Regions from separate parts of the Homo sapiens genome. Here regions 1 and 2 are each linked to region 3. The links are contacts of gene promoters, found by promoter capture Hi-C in blood cells and fetal thymus (Javierre and others, 2016). All regions are on one chromosome and are shown on one strand. Each heading gives the region's core, a stretch centred on a gene start or on the middle of the fragment in contact. The rest is flanking DNA. Distances are from core to core; before and after follow the strand shown. Region 1 holds the start of ATXN2L (ataxin 2 like). Region 2 holds the start of TUFM (Tu translation elongation factor, mitochondrial). Region 3 holds the start of BCL7C (BAF chromatin remodeling complex subunit BCL7C).

Region 1 (4,609 bases), core at 2,101-4,600, 2.1 Mb before region 3:
GGCCTCCCAAAGTGCTGGGATTACAGGCGTGAGCCACTGAGCCTGGCCATAGTGATATAATTTTTAAATTGCACACGATAAGACAACATTCCCATTGTTGGGGCAGGAGTGCTGCCCCAACCCCACCACCAGGAATGTTAGGCAACCATCAGGTGATGGTCAGGTGGTTGTTAAACTTGTCTCTAAAATAGTAATTGGTTGCAGCCAGCACCAGGGAAAGGCAGTCTCCAAATAGATGGAAAACACTTGAAACTGATGATCAGCAGCTTCTCGATAAGATCTCAGAAGTTGGGTAAATGGGCTCAAGCTTATGCACCAAGAGGCAAAATGGCGGAGTTTAATGGTACATGCCCTTCCTCCAGGAATGCTAGATCTGTAAGGGAAGAACGTCTTAAGTGAGCATGTGCACTTCAGTATACTGAACACACTGTGCTTGTGGCCCCTCCAAGTGCTGGCAGGCCACCGTGCATGTGGACAGCCCATGCCAAGGTAGGAATCAGGGGAGAAGAGATGCAAACCGTAAATCCCTGGAAGCATGCCAGCATATGAAACCCCAAGTCAAAGGTCAAACCAGGGACTTGAATCTGTCAAGTCATTCACGCCTGGCCCTCTTCCAAGTGTACTTTACTTCCTTTCATTCCTGCTCTAAAACTTTTTAATAAACGTTCACTCCTGCTCTAAAACTTGCCTCTGTCTCTCCCTCTGCCTTATGCCCCTTGGTGGAATTCTTTCTTCTGAGGAGGCAAGAATTGAGGTTGCTGTAGACCCCATGCAAATTAGCTGCCACTAGCAAGGGCAAGGCAAGCTATGGAGAAAGAAGTTTCATGGGGCTAAAACTCAGAATTTGAGTGTGGAGCAGGATGGGGTAGATGGAAGGGGGTTAGAGTGCTCAGTGCTCACAATCTGTCAATGAGGGTAGAGAGGTGGCATGGCATCAGGTGGTCCAGGTAATGCCAGGAAAAAGCTGGACTGTGTTTGTTAGGGAACCCAGGAGACATGATGACCTTTAAAACACCATTTGGGCTGGGCGTGGTGGCTCATGCCTGTAATCCCAGCACTTTCGGAGGTCGAGGCGGGTGGATCACCTGAGGTCGGGAGTTCAAGATCAGCCTGACCAACATGGAGAAACCCCGTCTCCACTAAAAATACAAAATTAGCCGGGTGTGGTGGTGCATGACTGTAATCCCAGGTACTCAAGAGGCTGAGGCAGGAGAAACGCTTGAACCCGGGAGGCGGAGGTTGTGGTGAGCCGAGATCGCGCCATTGCACTCCAGCCTGGGCAATAAGAACAAAACTCCATCTCAAAAACAAACAAAAAAACATCATTTGGATCCACTCACCTTACAGATATTTCATTGAGTGCCTGCAGTGTGCTAGAGTACTGCAGAGCAAGAAATAAGTCAAGATCCTAACCCTTAGGGAGCTGACATTAGCAGGAAGACAGAATTAAAGGAGCTGTTAGAATACAGTGGGATAAATTGCTCGGCGAGCACACAGGAGGGGAAACTAGCACATCTGAAGGCAGGAGCGAGGCAGGGCGAAGGACTATTACCCAAAAAGTAAGGCAGTGTTGTAGCTAGGTGTGCATGTGTTTGGTGCAGGGGCTGGGAAGAGTTCCAATGCTAACATTTAGAGCGAAGAGATTGAGACATTGAGAGTTTCGCTGGGATTAAGACCACATGGACTTAACAGCTCCACTCCATTCTCCACGTTGCAAAGAGTAAACCTTTAAAAATGCAAATCTGACCTCTTTTCACTTGTTTTTTTGTTTGTTTTGGGGGGAAGGAGTCTTGCTCTGTCACCCAGGCTGGAGTGCAGTGGTGCGATCTGGGCTCACGGCAACCTCCGCCTCCTTGGTTCAAGTGATTCTCCTGCCTCAGCCTCCTGAGTAGCTGGGATTACAGGCATGCACCACCACGCCTAGCTAATTTTTGCATTTTTAGTAGAGACAGGGTTTCACCATGTTGGCCAGGCTGATCTCAAACTCCTGACCTCAAACCTCCCAAAGTACTGGGATTACAGACCATGCCCAGCCTCTTTTCACTTTCTTAAATAAGCTCCCCACTGCTTTGAGGATAATGTCCGTGTCTCTTACAAGACTTGGGAGCCTTTAAAACCTGATCCCAGATTAGCTACCTCTTCCCCCCTTTAATTTTATGCTTAGGACAAGCTGAGTTTTTCTTAGTTTGTCATATCCTATTTCCCTGCCTAGAAACCCATCTCCCCCTGCCCTCTTATCAGTTTTTTTTTATAATTTAAATTTTTTTTTTTTTGTAGAGACAAAGTCTCACTTTGTTGCCTAGGCTGGTCTCAAACTCCTGGCCTTAAACGATCCTTCTGCCTCGGACTCCCAAAATGTTAGGATTACAGGTATGAGCCACTGCGCCCGGCCCTCCTGTCCCTTATCTGGGTCTCCCAAAACTGGATTAAGATTAGGTGTCACTCCCATTTGCTCTTGTAGTCCTCTGTGCTTCACCTACTAGATCTCGTCAAATTCTCTGAATTCACCACTAGCATGAACTCCTCCAGAGCAGGAAGCAGTTTAATTATCCTTGTGTCCAAAACAACTAACTGAATACTCCAATGCCCAACTCATTTTGAATGAATGAAGCTGCCTTCATTGCAGGGTCGGGTGGAGGATTTTGAACTCGGAACTTTGGCCTTCAGTCTTTGTTATTACAGTTTAAAGATTCATTCTCGGGCATGGAGGAACAATTTAGGTCAAAATCACAAAAATCTGAAATAATTTAGGACGAGGCGTAAATTTATCTGCAAAGATCAACACGCTCAAACGAATCACTAATGCTCATCAGTCTTTTACTTAAAGCAAACAAGGTGGAGGGTAGCTCCTTGCGAAACCTACCACCTGCCTAAAAGCGCAGTGGCTCGGGTGGTCCAGTCCCGGAGACTTTCTTGGCACTTAAGGCTCTGCCCACGGGCCGCCAAGTGGCGGAAGAGCCTCACGCACGACGTGCCGCCTCACACTCCCGCGGAGGCATCGCGACGCAGCGACGGCGTGGGCGGAGAGGCCGGCCCTTCCTCTGGCGCCTTCGGCTCCTCCCCCTGCGCCTCACACGCTCATTGTGAAGCGACAGCGGCCGCCGGCTTCTAAGGCGGTTTGAGACCTTAAGACCCTAAATCCTTGGCGCGCGTGAGCGCCCGCGCCGCTCCTTACCCACTCCCAGGGCTAGGGGTGCGAGGTTCACCGACTTGATTCTCTCCCACTTTCCCGCCGGGAGCTAACCGCGCCGGTGTGCGCGGCACCTCGCGCCACTGCTCGCTCCTGGCCCCCCCCCCCCCCCCCCCCCCCCGGGAGCTCCCACCCGCGCGCTCCTCCCTCTCCGCTCCCCGGCGACGCGCACGCGCGCCAGCCCGGCTCGCGCCCTCTCGCTTTCCTCCAGCCGCGAGACCCCCTCCCCTTCCGCCTCGCGGCGCTTCCTCGCGCCGCGGTCTTCTCTCTCCACCCCCGACACCGCGGGGCTCCCCCCGCCCGCCCACGGCGGGCCCCGGCTGCCCGATCCCCCTCGCTTCCCGCGCTCTCCAGCGGGGCCCCAGCCCCGGCCCCCTCTCTCCCTCCCTTCTCTCTAATTCCCCTTCCGGACGCTGCCATCATGTTGAAGCCTCAGCCGCTACAACAGCCCTCCCAGCCCCAGCAGCCGCCCCCCACGCAACAGGCCGTGGCCCGTCGGCCCCCCGGGGGCACCAGCCCTCCCAACGGCGGCCTCCCGGGGCCGCTGGCCACCTCTGCGGCTCCTCCCGGGCCTCCAGCGGCCGCCTCCCCCTGCCTGGGGCCTGTGGCCGCTGCCGGGAGCGGGCTCCGCCGGGGAGCCGAAGGCATCTTGGCGCCGCAGCCGCCGCCGCCGCAGCAACACCAGGAGAGGCCGGGGGCAGCCGCCATCGGCAGCGCCAGGTGAGAAGGGTGGGCTCCGGGCGAGGGAGCCGCGGCCACCCAGAGGCTGTGGCTCGGTTCCGGTGGGGCGGACCCCGACCCGGCACCGTCAGGGGCACCGGCTGGGTGGGGAGTCCCCGTGAAGCTGGGGGAGGGCCCCCTCAGGTCCGAACAGGTCGGACGGAAAGGGTCCCCGGGCGGCCACCGGAGCACTGAGGGGCCGCGCTCGGCTCTCGGGGCCTAGTCAGGGCTCGCAGCCCCGGCCTTCAGGGGAGGCGGGGCGCATCCCGCCGGCGCCGTCGGAACGGGGAGTTGGGGGGGGGCAAGGAGCTGATCGGGGTCCCCGGTTCCATTACCACGAAGGGTCTCGCGGTCCCCGGCTTCAGCCAATGGGGAGTCTGCTGCGGGAAGGGGTCCCCGGCCGTAGCCAATGGAGGGGGGCGCGCGGCCCACAGTTTGGCCAATGGGGAGGGAGGGACTTGGGAGCGGGTTGCTGCCTCCCCCTTCCCGGTCTGGCCAGTAGGAGGGGAGCGAGGTGGGCGGGGGGACGGAAGGAGGGATGACTGGGAGGACTGCGGGCCGGGAGCCTCTGGCGCGCGCGCCCCCTTCCCGTACGTGCGCGTGGATGCTCGGTCTCATGACCCGGGCATTCGCGCGCCCCGGGAACACCTAGGGCAGGGACTAGTTCGTGGAGGGGCTCGTCTGGTGGCAGTGCATGAG
Region 2 (4,998 bases), core at 16-2,515, 2.0 Mb before region 3:
CAAGTTCAACGAGCTCTTCAGTTCACATCCATATAGCCAAGTGTAGCAGTTAGAAACTCAGGCCCACCTTTCTCTACCATCTCCTCACCACCCATTCTGCGTGGCCAAGACCACAAACCTGCCATCTCATACCCAAACACTGAATATCTTAATCTCCTCCCCACAAGCCTAACATTTATCCTGACAAGAGGCAGCTTCTGGCCCTGTCTCCAGTGTCCCAGCAACCCTCACCTTAACATAATCTGCATGACCCGGGCAGTCTGTGTGGGCGTAGTGGCGGGCGGCAGTGCTATACTCCACATGAGCCGCATTGATGGTGATACCCCGAGCTCGCTCCTCCGGGGCATTGTCAATCTCCTCGTACTTCTTGAACTTAGCCCCACCTCCCTCAGCTAGAACTAAAGGAGGAAAAGAACACACCTCTCAGCTAAAGTTCCAGTGCTAGAGGCAGAGCTTAGACCACGCCCCTGAACCCTCCCACCTAAATACATAACCTCCTCCAATCTCTAACTCTTCCAGCAGAGAGAACTGTGGGTCAGAAAGAAATGTTAGAGGGCCTTAAGGGTCTGCCCTGTGACTTCTTTAGGGTACAGCCTCTGCTTGCAGAGCATTCCCCACGACTTTGTGATCCCCAAGCCATTGGTGGATCACAAAGTTCTTCCTGTTCAGGAGAAATTTGTCTCTTGCATCTCCCAATCCACCTGTCGCACAAATTCGGGCTCTTGGGGCCACAGTAAACTCCTCCAGCAGACACTCTGCTGGCCTTGCCTCCCTGGCTCCAGGTCCCATCAGTAGATAGGGCGCTGCTGGACGCCCCAACCCCACTCACTCTTCGTGATGGCTGCAGTCAGCGTGGTCTTCCCGTGGTCCACATGGCCGATGGTACCCACATTCACATGTGGCTTGTCGCGCACGTAAGTCTTCTTGGCCTCCACGGCCAGGCCGCGGCACAAGAGAGGCAATGCCGGGGCTTTCAGCAGCCGCAACAGACCCTGCAGCAGGAAGGTCCGGCCGGCGGCGAGACCTGCCGGGACCGAAGCTTGGAGTCAGGCAGGGAAGGGGTCAGACCGAACCCAGCCACCTACCACTCCCCCAAAGTGTTCCTGGGCCGCCATCGCCCTCCCTGACCACTCACCGCTGAAGTGGGGCGTCGCGCGCAGCAGGGTGGCGGCCGCCATTGTGGTCATACTCGCGCCCCGGTAACCGGGGAGCCGGGACCAGGAGCCCGAGCGCACAGAAGAAGAAGGGCGCCTGCGGCTGGAAGGCACTTCCGGCGGAAGTTAGAGCTGGGAGGGCAAGTCCGGGCCCCTCTAGCCGCCAGTGTCTATGGCCGTCTCAGCCGACGTCGGGCGCGCGGCTGAAGACGTCATGGAGGGGGCTGGTGTCTCGAGGGCGGAGTATGATGGAGAGGTTTTCCACCACTCGCGCCTCTCGGGCTGAGGGGCAACGTAGTTCTCTCTGGCGGTCGCAGGGGGCACTGAGGAGCGTCCCCTAAATCACCGGCGCCGCGAAGGCTCATGGGCGTAGTAGTTCTCAGGTCGGCGGGCTGTGGAGGTGATCAGAGTGGGAGTCAGGCGGGCTAGGCCGGACCCGGAGGGAGGGGCTCGGGCTCCGGGAGGCAGCTGCGGCTCCGACTGCTCAGGAACCTCCTCCTGGGCCCGGCAGAGAGAGACCCCGAGTCCCCCGGAGTCCGACTCGCTACGCGGGTCTTGCGAGATATCTGGCCGCCTCTGCCGCAGCTGGAGGTAGGGGACCAGGTCCTGGACGCCTTTCGGGGATGGGGTGAAGTGTGACCTCCCTCTTCGCTGAGACTTTGTTTTCTAATCTGTAAAATGGGAATAGTAGTATCCACTTCATAGGGAGAGCCTGACATCTAGCCCTGAGAGGAGATGAACTGGGTAGGAGTCAGTGTTGGGCCCTGTGAGGTCAGGCAGCTTGCGGGGACCCTGTACTGCTAGACCTCACAGGGCCAGAGCCCACAAGACAGACAGCTTCGCTGCCCACCCCTGTAGTCCCTCAGCAGCCTAAGGAGCAGTTCCGTTGGGCATCGCCCCACCCATCTAATTTTGCAGATGAGGAGCCAAGGATGAGGAGCCAGCTAGGGGAGCCTTTAAGGGGAGCCTGAGTCTCCTTTAATCTGTCGGTGTCCCCAGCACCTAACAGGGTGGAGCATGCAGTGAATGTTGAATGAATGGGTGCAAGGGTAGTCAATGTCCCTTAACTTTCACATCCATCATCTCATGGCAGCTTCCACAGGGCACTCCAAAGTGTTAATTATGGCTGCTTAACCCTGGCTAATGTTTCGGAACTCATCAGATCCTGAGACTCAGTGGACAGTGTTTGTTTCAAATAGATTCCCTAATTCCTCCCCTGGAGGTTATGATTCCGTGGGGTCTATGCACAGACTGGGAAGCTATATAACAAACACTCTTCTAAAACTGAGAAGAGGCTGGGCACGGTGGCTATAGTGCCAGCCTATAGTCCCAGCAGTTTGGGAGGCTGAGGTGGGAGGACGGTTTGAAGCCAGGAGTTCAAGACCAGCCTGGGCAGATTAGGAGACCCTATCTCTACAAAAAAAAATTTAAAATTAGCCAGGCACAGTAGCATGCAGCTATAGCCCCTCCTACTCAGGAGGCCGAGGCAGGAGGATCGCCTGAGCTCAGGAGTTCAAGGCTGTGGTGAGGTATGATCATGACACTGCACCCCACCGTGAGTGACAGAGAAAGACCCCATCTTTTTTTTTTTTTTTTTTTTTTTTTTGGAGACAGAGTCTCACTCTGTCGCCCAGGCTGGAGTGCAATGGGGCGATCTCGGCTCACTGCAACCTCCACCTCCTGGGTTGAAGCAATTCTCCCACCTCAGCCTCCTGAGTAGCTGGGACTACAGGCATGTGCCACCACGCCTGGCTAATTTTAGTATTTTTAGTACAGATGGGGTTTCACCTCGTTGGCCAGACGGCTCTCGAACTCCAGACCTCAAGTGATCCGCCCATTGTGGCCTCCCAAAGTGCTGGGACTACAGGCGTGAGCTACCACGCTCAGCCAAGAAAGACCCCATCTCTATAAAAATATTTTGGCCAGGCGTGGTGGCTCACACCTGTAATCCTAGCACTTTGGGAGGCCGGGCGGGTGGATTGCTTGAGTTCAGGAGTTCGAGAACAGCCTGGGCAACACGGTGAAACTCTGTCTCTACTAAAATACAAAAAATTAGCTGGGCGTGGCAGTGTGCACCTGTAGTACCAGCTACTCAGGAGGCTGAGGCAGGATAATTGTTTGCACCCGGGAGGCGGAGCTTGCAGTGAGCTGAGATGGTGCCACTGCACTCCACCCTGGGCGACACAGCGAGACTCCGTCTCCAAAAAAAAAAATTTTTTTTCAAATGAAAACTCAGAGGAGTTTAGGAAACTCTGAACTAGAGCTTTATGATGTTCAGGCATTCCTATTGTTTCACAATCAGCGCTCCCAGTGCTACCCTGGGTAGTAGGAACTATTATTTCCTCCATTTTGCAGGTGTGAAAACTGACGGTCAGGGTGATTAAGGAATCCACCACCACTAAACCCCAAAAAGTGTGCACACCGCACTGTCCTTTTTTTTTTTTTTTTTTTTTTGAGACAGAGTCACACTCTGTTGCCCAGCTGGAGTGCAGTGACACGATCTCGGCTCACTGCAACCTCCATCTCCCAGGTTCAAGCGATTCTCCTGCCTCAGCCTCCCGAGTAGCTGGGATTACAGGCGCCTGCCACCACGCCCAGCTAATTTTTGTATTTTTAATAGAGACGGGGTTTCACCATATTGGCCAGGCTGGTCTTGAACTCCTGACCTCAAGTGATCCACCCACCTTGGCCTCCCAAAATGCTGGGATTATAGGTGTGAGCCACCATGCCCAGCCAGACTGTACTATAATTTAACTCTCATTTTACTGCTCAGATAAAGTGAGGAACTTGCTAAGACTTCTCTCTTCCTGGCCCTCCAGTTAATCAGTTCTGCTTAGGAAAGGCTGGTATCATGTGTAGTATAAACAGATTTTGTTTTTGTTTTTTTGACAGAGCCTTGCTGGGTCTCCTAGGCTGGAGCATAGTAGGGCAGTCACAGCTCACTGCAGCTTCAGCCTCCCAAGCTCAATCTACCTCAGCCTCCCAAATAGCTGGGATTACAAGCATACACCACCACACCTGGCTAATTTTTGTATTTTTTGTAGAGATGGGGTTTCGCCATGTTGGCCAGGCTGGTCTCCCAATACCGGGGCCCAAGCCGTCTGCCCACCTTGGCCTCTCAAAATGCTGGGATTACAGGCATGAGCCACTGTGCCCAGCCTAAAAGGGTTTTCTGTTTCTACTCTGTACCTAAGTCACTGTACTCCTAGGAATTTATCCTAAGACACTATTGGCCACTAGCAAGTTATGAGTTTTTGGGGGTGGTATTTGAATTAATGGTTTATATTTTTGTGGTGCTATATTTATTTTAATGTGTATTAGCTTGAAAAAAAACTGGCATAATAATCAAGTTTTTAAAAAAACAGATCAACTTAAAAGAATATTGTTTGGTAGATAATATTATGGATGCACTGGGCACAATGGCTCACACCTATAATCCCAGCACTTTGGGAGGTCGAGGCAGGCGGATCACTTGAGGCCAGGAGTTCGAGACCAGCCTGGCCAACATGGTGAAATCCCGTCTTTACTAAAAATACAAAATTACCTGGGCATGGTGCACGCCTGTAGTCTCAGCTACTCAGGAGGCTGAAGCAGGAGAATCGCTTGAACCCAGGAGGCGGAGGTTGCAGTGAGCCGATATCACGCCATTGTACTCCAGCCTGGGTGACAGAGCGAGACTCTGTCTCAAAAATAAAATAAAAACTATTATGTGTGGTATGAATATATGGCAAATTTTTTGGAAGGTAGTGAATGAATGGCTAGAGTTTGAGAAACACGGTGTTCGGAAAAGAGCCCAGAGAAAATTTTTTCTAGAGCTGTTGACCGTAGCATCCTCTGTATTAGT
Region 3 (4,697 bases), core at 505-3,004:
CAGGAAACTGACATGAGAGTGAGGAGAAAGATAAACTAGTAAAAAATTAATTTACATGAAAATCTCAGACAGTGATATGTCTGTATAGATTCTAAGAGACCAGAGGAATGAGACTGTAGCTACAGGGAGATTCTGCAGGAGTCGGAAGGCGCCTTGAGGAGGGTGCACAAGACGGGGAGCAGGTATAGGGATGAGCTGGTAGGTTAGACTCTGGAGAAGACAGGACTTAGAGGAGAGAGCTCCTGGGAGGTACCTGGTCCTACCTCTCTCTTGGCCCAGCCGTGGGGGCTGAGCCTCCTCAGGGACCCCTTCTGGGGGTCCGGCAGGTGACACAGGGCGGCTGGGCTGGGGGGTGCCCCCAGGACTGGGCTCTGTGCCCTTTTGCAGGGAACCTTCCGAATGGAAACTCTGGTTGCTGTTCTCATCTGCGGGAGCAAGAGCCGAGATGGTTGGCCTGAGATCCCTAGTACACTCCTTCAGTCCCCACAGCCCCCCGCGTTTCAGGATCCCTACCTACCATTAAGATCCAGCAGGATGAGAGGGCCACCCCCTCGGGGACTGGCGCCCCTGCCCCGACGTTCCCGGCCACGGGATCTCTCTGCCCCGCCACCTGCCCGCCTTCGCTCCTGGGGGTTAGAGGATTAGGGTCAGAGCTCTTGGAAAGCCCCACCATACACCTAAGGAAACTGAGGCACTGAGAAGCAAAAGGGCTCAAACTCAGGGGGTGTGGAGCAGAAAAGAGGGCAAAAGGGGAGGAGCTGCTAATGATGGTTCCCGTCTGTCCTGCTGCATCTGAGGTCTCGGGGAGCTGGAGGTAGAGGTCAGCGTGGGGAGGAACTTGCCTGAGGTTGCACAGATGCAGGGCCTTGTGGGAATGGGGGTTGCTCACCTCCTCCTGGGGATCCACCACTGGCACCCACTTGAAGATACGAAGGGAAGTGTCGCCCACAGTCACCCATCGCTTCTCCCTGTGGGAGGGTGGGGGGCTGGGTCAGAGAGGCCTGAGGGGAGACCCACCCCCCTAGGAGCTGGACACATCTGGGGGTACCTGCAGAGGTTGAGGAGGCACAGGAGGATAGCAACAGTTTTGCTAATGGGGCATAGTTACATGGAGGAAGAGAGTCCTGCAAACCCCAGGGCATAGGCGGTGGGTGCCTCTAGAGAGAGGATATGATTTGGGGCCCTGGCTCTGCGGACCCCTGGGGCACACATGGGGGGCGTGGCTATGGGCCTGGCCCGGGATCAGAGCCCTGCAGATCCTGGGGCGCACCTGCAGGAGGGGTGTCAAAGCTTTAGGGGGCGGGGCACAAGAGGGGGCTCCCGCTCTGGGAGGACACGGCTGGGGATCACGCTTTGTAGACCCCCAGGAGTAGCCAGGCGAACGGGGACAGAGCCCTGTGGATCCAGGGCAAAGCTAGTGGGTGGAGATACACCGAACACCCGGGGCCCAGAGCTGGCGAGGGCAGCGTAGACGCCTTTGGTGCTGGTGGTCCCGCTGTGTCCCGTCCCTGGCCCCCGAGCAGCGCTCACCATCTCCGGACCTTCTCGATGGTCGCCATCACCTTCTTGATGTCATCCTTGGCCCGGCTCCGGGTCTCGGCCCGTACAGTCCGGCCGGCCATGCTGGCGGGGCTGGGGCCGGGGCCGAGCCCGCGGCGGGGCCGCCTCCCGTCCGGCGGGCTCAGGCTCCGCGCCAGGCCCGGGCGCCGCGCTCTCGGCCTGCCGTCCCCCCTGGAGTTGGCCGCGCCCTCTCTCGTCCCCAACGCCTCCGCAAGTCCCCGCCCCGTTTCCTGCCGCCGCGCCCCGCCCCGGCCTGTCCCCGGAGCGGCCCGGTGGCGCGGGCGGCCAGAGCCCAGGCCTGGAAGCCCGGCCGGCCCCGCCCCGACCCGGGCCCGCCCCCTTGGAGCGCCTGGACGCTCAGCGCCCCCTGCCCGCCGCCGAGAGCGGGAGTTGGGGACGGACGCGCGAGTTGGGGACGGAGAGCGGGAGTTGCGACCGGACGCGCGAGGCAGGGCCGAGGCCGTGTGTTCAGACCACGTGGGCGCGGGGTGCGCGACAGGGTCTGTGTCCTGCGCTGCGTGAGCCGCGGTGGGTGTCCGCGAAACGCTGTGTGTGGAGTGCGTGCGTGTGTCCGCCCTCGCCAGGCTGTTGGTCTACACCGCCCAACTTACTCAGTCATCCATTCATTCAACAGTCTTGTTAACTGAGTGCCAATTACGCTCCAGGCGCTGCGAATACGAGTGGGTCTCCACCACCAGAATGGCTAAAGTGAAAAAGACCGCACCGTGTGGAGGCGAGAAAGTAGAGCGACTGGACCTCTCTTGTATTTCTGGGGGAGTGTAAATTGGTAGAGACATTTTGGAAAACTGGCAGTTTTCTAATGAAGCCGAACATATGCCACCTCTGTGATCCAGCAGTTCCACTCCTAGGCTGTCAACACCCAGCAGAAATGTGTAGGTGTGAGCATCAAGAGGGTGCATGGGAATGTTCAGAGCCCTTTCATAACAGCCCCAAACTGGAAATAACCCATCAACAGAATGGAAAATGAATGATGCCCTACTCACTACCATGCACATAGACACAGCAACGGGATTGACATGCCCGGCTACACACAGCAACATAGACAAGTCGCATGATGAAATCTTGAGTGACAGAAGCCAAATGCAACAGTACATACTAGATGGTTCCAGGTGTATTACGTTCAGAACCAGACAAAACTAATTTATAGTGCACCAAAGTCAAGATAGTGATCGCCCTTAGGGTTGGGAGGGGACGAGGGGAGAGCTTCTGGGAGCTGATCCAGTTCTGTTGTGTAATCTGGTGCTGGTTCCCTGGGCATATGTATTCTGTGAAAATCCATCACATGACTTAAATAAAATGTACATTACTTAAATAAAATGAGTGTGTCTTTGTTGACTTTATTTGAGGCTGGCTTGTCAGCAGATAAGACCATGTCAAAATTTGTGCTGCTGTTGTGTGTGTGTGTGTGTTTCAAGGTGTGGCTGTTGTGTCTGTGAATTTGGGCGTGACCATGTCCAGAGGTTAAGGGTATAAGGGGTTAGGAGCATGGTTAAGACAGCATTTTTTTGAGCCAAGCTGCTTAGGTAAAATCCCAGTTGTGCCACACCTAACTGTGTTACCCTGGACAAGTCACTTCTCTCTATTCCGCATCTATAACACAGGAGTTAGTTAATGTGCATATGGCTCTTAGAACAGTGCCCAGCACATGGTAAATGCCCAATAAATATTTACAGTTAATACACATGTGATTGTGGGCCCTACCAATTGTCTGGCTCAATTCTATCTGCTGTGCCCTCTCCAGTTAAACTCTTTCTTCTTTTATTCCAGCAATTGCTCACGGCAATACACACACCCACTCACACGAACACACGCACACACATGCACGCGCACATGCACACACGCGCACACCTGCACACTCACACGCACACAAATCCACTCGCACACACGCATGCTCACACGCACACACGTCCGCATGCACGCACACACGCAGACACACGCAAGCGCACACACACACGGGCCTCCTCGTCTTCATTCACAAACCCCATTAGCTTCTGTTGTCTATGGGCTTCCTCGACAGACCGCGAGCCCCTCGCGGGGGCCAGAAACCAAGTATGGATCATCCCTATGTGCCTTCCTTTCCGTCTACACCAGGTTAATGGGGTTGACGTATGGGTGTGACTTCCTGTCCAGGTCTCTGTAGCTTGTTCTCCTGGGGGTGGGGGGCGGGGTGTGATTGTTACTAGGCCTGCTAAGAAGAGGAGAGCAGTGTATCTGTCTCCCTCCTGGTGGGTGTGACAATGAGATTGGAAGCCATCTAAGATAGGCCAGGAGATGTATGTCTGGACAAACATGCCCCAAGCCTGACGGCCCCCATCGTAGCCTCCCTCGCAAGCCGCGCCCCAGACTAGAGAGAGGGCCTGCGCATTCCTGTCCTGCCAGTCCGGCAGTTCCCTCTCCTGTCTCCTCAGCTTTACACCCAAAGCAGCCGCTGCCTCAGGTCCAAGCCTGAGCCCGCGGCAGAACATTGGGCTGCCTCCCAGGCCCTGACACCCCCAGCCCCGAGGTCCTGTCCACCCGGCAGACAACTTGCCTTCCCCCTCGGGCCCCTTCCCCCACTAGGCCCCACGGACGAGGAGCTGAGCTCAGGGCCAAGGAATCCTGTCTCAAAAGGGGGGGTAGGATGAAATGTTTGGGGTCTGGGCTCTGATTGGCTGCGCCCGGGCCACGCCCCCAGCCCTTTCCCCTTTCTCCCCCCTCGAAAGGGGGGCGTGAAGGGAGCCGGGATCAGCCAGGGGCCAGCATGAGCCGGAGGGAGGGAAGTCTGGGTAAGGGGCTGAGGGACCGGACGCCGGGTCGCTGAGGGGCGCAGGAGTCAGAGGGATTGGGAGCTGGGGGTCTGGGTTTCCGCCACCCCCGGGTCCGGGAGGGGAGCGGCCTTGGCGGGGAAGGGCAGGGCTCCGGTGTCAGGTAACGAGTGAGCGGGTGAGTTGTGAGAAACAGCAGGCGCTAGGGTTTAGAGGAGGCCTGGGGCTGAGGTTTCAGGGACCTGGGCTCAGGGCTTAGATCACCGGTTCGAGTACACCCAGGGGGAGGACTGGGGTCGGGGCTGGGGCAGGACCCCTGCGTCCACTGAGTCTCGGGAAAGAATCAGAGCTGGGGGGCTGAAGGAAGGGGTA

The links. Contacts are between HindIII fragments. The CHiCAGO score rates a contact against its expected background, and 5 or more counts as called.
Region 1: a contact is called between the fragment with the promoter of ATXN2L here and the fragment with the promoter of BCL7C in region 3, in 1 of 17 cell types (non-activated CD4 T cells). The highest score is 7.4, in non-activated CD4 T cells.
Region 2: the fragment with the promoter of TUFM here is called in contact with the fragment with the promoter of BCL7C in region 3 in 1 of 17 cell types (fetal thymus); the score reaches 6.0 in fetal thymus.

The regions. Positions count from the first base shown.
Region 1 is chr16:28,819,649-28,824,257 of GRCh38, forward strand. It overlaps ATXN2L (ataxin 2 like), which reads left to right and starts at 3,351. Exons shown (of 22, transcript NM_007245.4): 1 at 3,351-3,910. The coding sequence starts at 3,612. It overlaps LOC124903672 (a long non-coding RNA gene), which reads right to left and starts at 4,394. Exons shown (of 2, transcript XR_007065042.1): 1 at 4,246-4,394; 2 at 1-373. RefSeq lists enhancers at 2,630-3,366, 2,878-3,087 and a silencer at 3,408-4,557. The HindIII fragment of the contact is 7,883 bases long and covers 306-4,609 here.
Region 2 is chr16:28,845,083-28,850,080 of GRCh38, forward strand. TUFM (Tu translation elongation factor, mitochondrial) reads right to left here and starts at 1,266. Exons shown (of 10, transcript NM_003321.5): 1 at 1,136-1,266; 2 at 830-1,024; 3 at 232-398. The coding sequence starts at 1,187. It also overlaps a transcript of SH2B1 not described here. RefSeq lists an enhancer at 1,128-1,617. The HindIII fragment of the contact is 15,792 bases long and covers 1,038-4,998 here.
Region 3 is chr16:30,892,323-30,897,019 of GRCh38, forward strand. It overlaps BCL7C (BAF chromatin remodeling complex subunit BCL7C), which reads right to left and starts at 1,755. Exons shown (of 6, transcript NM_004765.4): 1 at 1,531-1,755; 2 at 890-968; 3 at 518-626; 4 at 264-425. The coding sequence starts at 1,622. It overlaps MIR762HG (MIR762 host gene), which reads left to right. Exons shown (of 3, transcript NR_110942.1): 3 at 2,226-2,898. It overlaps MIR762 (microRNA 762), which reads left to right and starts at 1,581; the gene lies at 1,581-1,663. It overlaps CTF1 (cardiotrophin 1), which reads left to right and starts at 4,292. Exons shown (of 3, transcript NM_001330.5): 1 at 4,292-4,346. The coding sequence starts at 4,322. RefSeq lists enhancers at 712-1,344, 883-1,212, 2,956-3,461, 3,462-3,965 and a silencer at 1,593-2,072. The HindIII fragment of the contact is 7,734 bases long and covers 1,289-4,697 here.